2 separate regions of the Homo sapiens genome follow, and region 2 is linked to region 1. The links are contacts of gene promoters, found by promoter capture Hi-C in human tissues and cell types (Jung and others, 2019). All regions are on one chromosome and are shown on one strand. The core of a region is centred on a gene start or on the middle of the fragment in contact, and the rest is flanking DNA. Distances in the headings are between cores, read along the strand shown. Region 1 holds the start of CLCN4 (chloride voltage-gated channel 4). Region 2 overlaps SHROOM2 (shroom family member 2).

Region 1 (3,464 bases), core at 881-3,380:
CTTCCAGCACATCATACAATGGGGAACTCTTGAAAATGGCTGGGAAATGGAACATCTTGGGCATCAAATTATACTCCATCAGTAATTCAAACCAGGGTTTCTCGACTTCAGCACTATTGTACTGATATTTTGGGCCGAAATGTTCATTGTCCCGGGAGGTAGGAGTGGAGAGGGAGCTGTCCTGTGCACTGTAGGATGTTCAGCAGCAGCCCTGGCCTCTACCCACTCAATGCCAGGAGCACACGGCTCCTCCCACTTCAGTTGTGGCTGCCAAAAATGTCCCCTGGGGGAAAGGGAGCAACATCACCCCATTAAGAACCGCTGTTCTAAACCTTGTATGACATCTGTAGAAAACTGGCAGATAAGAGAAAAAATGTAGAAGATTCAAAGGGATAGGAAAGAGAAATCTGTGAAGACAATGGAAAGAGCCTGTAGTCCCAGTTACTTGGGAGGCTGAGGCAGGAGGATTGCTTGAGCCCAGGAATTTGAGGTTGCAGTGAGCCATGATCGTGCCACTGCACTCCAGCCTGGGAGACAGGGTGAGACCCTGTCTCGAATGAACAAAAAACTCAAAGGTTATTATTCCGTAACTATTGAAAGAATCTTTTCATGAAGGATGGTAATAACCAGCTTTCTATCTCCACACAGAGCAAAGTAAAAAGAAGTAGGTTTAAATGGAAGAGAAATTAAAACTGGACATACAGATGGTTAAATATTAACAACGGCCCCTGAATGGCACTTTCTTTCCTAAAGATCTTCATGAGCAGAATAATCTAGGATGGCTAGGGATTGTTCCCTCGGGACTTTGTGGTTAAGAATTCAGGATCTTCAAGTAATGAAATCTGCATTAAAAAATTAGCCAAAACTGTTTGTTTATTCCATAATCATGTCTATATGGTGCTTTTAAGAAAACAATTTTTTTGTTGCTATAAAAGCAATACATATTCACTGTGGAAAAATTAGACGATATCTCTAAGCTTAAAAGAAGAAAAATTTAAAACACCCTTAATCCCACTAACCAGTGAGATACCATGTTTGATACTTTAGTGAATTCATTTCCTAATAGTTTTCTGTGTTCGCAAAGGTATATGTGTAGATATAAATATATTACACCTACATAGAAACGACGGATCACTCAGCACATAATGCTTTGAAGCTTCCATTTTTTTTCCCATTTAATCCGCTGCACATGTCTTTTTCCATCCGTGTGTACCACCGTATTAGTTTTAATTCTTCCACTGCACAGATGGCTTATAATTTAAAACATCCCCTGTTTTTGGAGATTTAACTTGTTTCCAGTGCTTTGAGATCATAAGTAATATTGCAGCAAACTTTCCCTAGTCAGGGGTTTGCACACCGTTCTTCCCCCCACCCCCACTCCCCACACCCCAGGACAAATTCTTGGACATCAAGTTGCTGGAGCACATGATACCAACAGCTGTAGGGCCCGGAGTAATTGGCGAAACTGTGTATCTGTAAGGCATTTGGTAGGAAAAATGCTAAACAGACCACCAGAAAGATTGCTCAACTTACATTCCCATGGGTGGTATTGGTTTTTGCTTTTTTTGGTTTTGTTTTTTAATCTTGGCTAAAATGACAATTTGAAAGGCGAGGGTGGAGGGTGTTCAGACAGCTCTCTCATTCTGTTGAGAATTGCTTGGCCCAGTTCTGGGCCTTGTCTGAATTGCCGGTTTGCTGCAATGTTTTTTACAATTGAGCAATCACCTAGAAAAAAGAGAAGGTGAAACTAACCTACTGCAAAAAAACTGCTCCAGGATGAAGAAGGTTGCCTGTATTTCGTCATTTCAGCCAAGCCGGAATACGGAGCAAGGCTGTCTGCACCGTGCTACCATCCTCTTCAGGCTGCAGGGCATTTTGTATACCCACCACCTCCCATTGATGCTGGAAAATCCGGTCACAGAATTCCGTGCAGCCCAGCCCCTGAGGGTGGGGCGTCCTGTCTCCGGGACGCCGGGTTTTCTCTGGACACGAATGCTCCGGGGGTAGGAGGCGAATGACACTGGCACGGCGGGGCTCCGGAGCCAAGAGGTGACCAGGCTGGCTGGGCAGGGCTGAGTGGCTGGGCCGAGCACGTGATGCTCCCAGCCGGCCTCCGGGGCCCTCCGGGCTGAAATCGACATTTGCCTCTGGCAGGAAAATGAGCTTGTCAGTTTCTGCCTCCATTAGACCCTCAACCCAAAGGAGCAGGAGATTTCGGTAGCGTTTTAACTTTATCTCAGAATCTGAAAGCGGAAGGTAAGCTGCTTATCACTCAGAAAAACAAATTTGAGAGGAGTGACCTAGTAAAGTACACTGCGACTTTGTTGATTTTTAAAATCTGGTGTTGAAAATAATTGATCGCTGTGAGAGTCAAGGGCTGTATTTATCCCCAAATTAGAGATTAACCTTCTGAACAGAAATTTGGTTAATTTGGAGGGAATCACGGTATAAGGGCCAGGGTTAAATATAGAAGGACACGAAAGCTGATGGAATAAACTGCAAGTAAACTTAACTCTAGCCTGCTTGTAAAACAATCTATTTCATGTCTCCTTCAGGGCTGTGAGCAAAGGGAATGTTAAAATTGTGATTTTTAACTCAAGTGAAAGTAAATGAATCTATTTGCAATTGGAATACAAATAAAAGCAGTCTTTGCTTTTGTCCTTTTACATTTCAAAAACGCTTGTGTATTTTGGCAAAAGAAAAGTTTATATGTGCACTGCTTAAGTTTGAAATACGCTATTTCAAATTTACAAAATTATCACAGTTGTAATTTTCTAAAGTCTTTCTAGGCAAGGCTGTTTCAGTTGTGAATGAGAAATGTTGACATTGTACATATTTTCTGTGATAGTAAAATGACTCACTTCTTCAGAATGTGATAAAGATTAGAAAATGTGAAATAATGAGTTATTGTGAATTAAGTCATGTCTCAGAGATTAAATGCCTTGCCAGAAGATGTAAGAAAACAGAGACACAAATACAACCATGCTCACGTAGCAGTGCTTTATTTTAAATCATCACATATTTAAGTAAGTAGTAGAAATACGTGGTGTCACCATTTTTTCCTTTGGCAAATACAAATTAATATTGGAATGCAGCTATTCAGAGTAATTAAAGCATTATTCATCCGTGCAATTAGTATAATGTTCCATAATGAATTGCTTTGAACTAAAGTGTTTGGTATAATACTCGATATACGGCTTGAAACATAGAAACTCTAGGCAAAGTATGTCCATGCTATATTTTGTGTCATTTTGATTTGCACAAAATGTTTATTTCTCCACTGCATTTGATAAATACTAGTTTTAAAATAAAACATGAAATTGTATTTCCTTTCACTGTAATCCCTTTATTGCTAATTCTTTTGAAATCCTATTACTCGCTTGGAGCCTGTAATAATTTGGATTTCTCCTCCTGTGTGTTGTTTTTCATAATTCTTCGCGAAAGGCCAGGCAAGCTGCACACAT
Region 2 (2,938 bases), core at 23-2,522, 260 kb before region 1:
ACAAAATGAAATGGCAAGACAAGGCATGAGCAAGAAGGGGAGCATAGGACTTGGGTTTCAGCCAAGCTTCTTTGGGATTGGCCAGGTGGGATGCCAGGCAGTAGGGTTCTGAGCCGGTGGGGTGGCATCCACGGCACCCCTCTCCTTTCCAGGGTTTTACACATGGACTGGAAGGCAGGAGATATATATGGGGTGGCAGGTATATCTTGTAAAAGCTCCCAAGAGGTTCTTTAAGCTTTGGTAGCCTCTCCTCAACCCTCTTGGAGTTAGTGGCAGTATCCTCACTAGTCTCCTGTTAAGAGGATGGCGGTAACAGCAGATAGTCTGCTTTTGGTGTGCGTGTGTGGATGTCTCCCTGCTTGCGTGAGTGTGTGTGTGTATCTGTGTATGTTTACGGGTGTGAGTGTGTGGGGGGGTGTGAGTGTGCATGTGTATTTCTACACGTTTGTGTGTGTGTGTCTTTGTATGTGTATGAGTGTTCATGTGTCTGTTCGTGTGTGCCTGTATGTGTGCCTGTGCATCTCTTTGCTTGTATGTGCATGTGTGTGCACATGTATATGTGTATGTGAGTGTGTGAGTATCAGTGAGCATGTTTGGTGTGTGTGTGTGTGTGTGTGTGTGCGCGTGCGTGCACACGCAGGTATGTGTCTGTGTTTGGAGCTAATGTAACCACTCAGTTTTTGGCTGTTAATAAATGCTGGTCTTGGCTGGGCGCAATGGTTCATGTCTGTAATCCCAACACTTTGGGAAGCTAAGGTGGGAAGATTGTTTGAGTTCAAGACCACCCGGGACAACACAGCAAGACCCCATCTCTATTAAAAATAAAAGAAAATTAGCTGGGCATTGTGTGCACACCTGTAGTCCCAGCTACTCAGGAGACTGAGGCAGTAGGATCACTGAAGCCCAGGAGTTCGAGGCTGCAGTGAGCTATGATTGCAGCACCGCACTCCAGTCTGGGCAACAGAGCAAGACCTCGTCTCTTAAAAAAAAAAAAAAAAGAAAAGAAAAAAAAATACTGGTCTGTAAAATTGCAAGGTAAAGATTTATATGACACGAAGGAAAGACAACTGAAATATAACATTACCCCTAAAGTGACAAAAGATGATGGTATTTAGAGCCCAGTGTATTTTTTGGGGAAAAAAAAAACACAAAAAAACAAAAAGCCACAGATTCTCAACTGAGTAGTAACACTTAAGTGAACAGTGGGCCTTTTATTTTATTCCTGAAGTGACTTAAGGTGATGAGATCTCCATTAAGCCCATTTGGCAGTCTCTTGATGAAAGAAACATGCACACTGCCCACATCTGTGTGGAAACAGTGCTCAGAGTTCTCTAGATCTGCTTGGACTTGGGATCTCACAGAAAAGTCCCTTCCAGAATACTGGTGGGTAGTCAGGAGCATGCCCCGGGTTTGAGGATACGTGGTCTGTTCTTACAGAAGATGGGTGGGAAACCCAAACAGTCCTCTCCCTCCCATAGATGACAGCCAGTTGTTCTCCAGTGTTCTGTCCTGGTCACACGGTTCTCTCATCCTCACTCTCCCCCAACCTAGTGGAGCCACAGCTTCTTCCTGTTGAAGGGTGAACATCTCAGCTTTGTTGAGCTTTAAAGAAAGCACTTAACATCCTGGATAAATAGTTTCACCATTGAGAGCTCTCAGTCACACACAGTTATTACCTTACAGAGGAATCAATGTGTCAACTCACCGTCAATTTCATCCTCTTAGACACCATCCTGTTTAGGAGCCTGTGTTTTTTGGTGTGAGTGTCAATAACTCTGTAGGGTATAACCAGTTAGCTGAAAGCTGAACACAGCAGTGTGTGATATTATTATTATTATTATTATCTTTGAAACAGGGTTTTACTCCATTGCCCAGGCTGGAGTGCAGTGGCGCAGTCACAGCTCACTGCAGCCTCAACCTCCCAGGCTCAAGCCATCTTCCCACCTCAGCCTCCCAAGTAGCTGGGACTACAGGCATGCACCACCACATCCAGCTAATTTTTTAAAAAGTTTTTATAGAGATGGGGGTCTCACTATATTGCTAAGTAAGGCTGGTCTCAAACTCCTGGCCTCAAGTGATCCTCCAGCCTCAAGTGATCCTCCTGCCTTAGCGTCTCAAAGCACTGGGATTTCAGGTGTGAGCCACCAAACCTGGTCTGTAACAGGCTAGCTAGTAAATGCTTTTGGCTTTGCAGGCCGCACATCTCTGTTGCAGTTACTCAGCTCTTTCATTATAGCCCAAGAGCAGCCACAGACACTACGCAGACACATGGGCACAGTTGGGTTCCAGTAAAGCTTCATGTATGAACTGAAATTTGAATTTCATATCATTTTCACAGGTGAAATAGGAGAAATAGTATGCCTCTTCTCCCACCATAAAACATATAAAAACCATTTGGGCTGGGTGCGGTGGCTCATATCTGTAATCCCAGCACTTTGGGAGGCCGAGGCAGGCAGATCACTTGAGGTCAGGAATTCGAGACCAGCCTGGCCAACATGGTGAAACCCCGTCTCTACTAAAAATACAACAAAATTAGCCGGGCACAGTGGCAGGCACCTATAATCCCAGCTACTCGGGAGGCTGAGGCAGGAGAATCGCTTGAACCCAGGAGGCGAAGGTTGCAGTGAGCTGAGATCACGCGTCTGCACTCCAGCCTAGGCGACAGAGTGAGACTGTCTCAAAAAAAAAAAAAAAACCAAAATCAACAACAACAACAACCTGAGTTGTGGTGTGGCCACCCCTGCGCTTAACTGTTGATTGACCATAGACGTGTAAATGCAGACGTTGCCTGCCAACGATCCGGGCATCAGGCTGAGAATGTGCGCTAGGGTTGCAAGGCATCTGTTTGGTAAAAGCCATGTAACAGGGAGGACACAGTCTTTTCAGCCTGTGCCCAGTTTCTCCGTGTCTCTACTAAAATCCAGATGTGCTGAGCTGC

Evidence for each region. The method cuts DNA at HindIII sites, captures the fragments that hold promoters and counts their contacts. A contact is called where the count stands out against the background at its distance.
Region 2: a fragment that was not itself captured here is called in contact with the fragment with the promoter of CLCN4 in region 1 in 2 of the 25 tissues and cell types used here (IMR-90 fibroblasts and dorsolateral prefrontal cortex).

The regions. Positions count from the first base shown.
Region 1 is chrX:10,154,845-10,158,308 of GRCh38, forward strand. It overlaps CLCN4 (chloride voltage-gated channel 4), which reads left to right and starts at 2,131. Exons shown (of 13, transcript NM_001830.4): 1 at 2,131-2,256; 2 at 3,445-3,464. The HindIII fragment of the contact is 5,415 bases long and covers 1-3,464 here.
Region 2 is chrX:9,891,273-9,894,210 of GRCh38, forward strand. All of the region lies in intron 3 of SHROOM2 (shroom family member 2), which reads left to right. Among named protein-coding and RNA genes, the nearest start is that of CLDN34, 75 kb to the right of the region's middle. The HindIII fragment of the contact is 5,546 bases long and covers 1-2,938 here.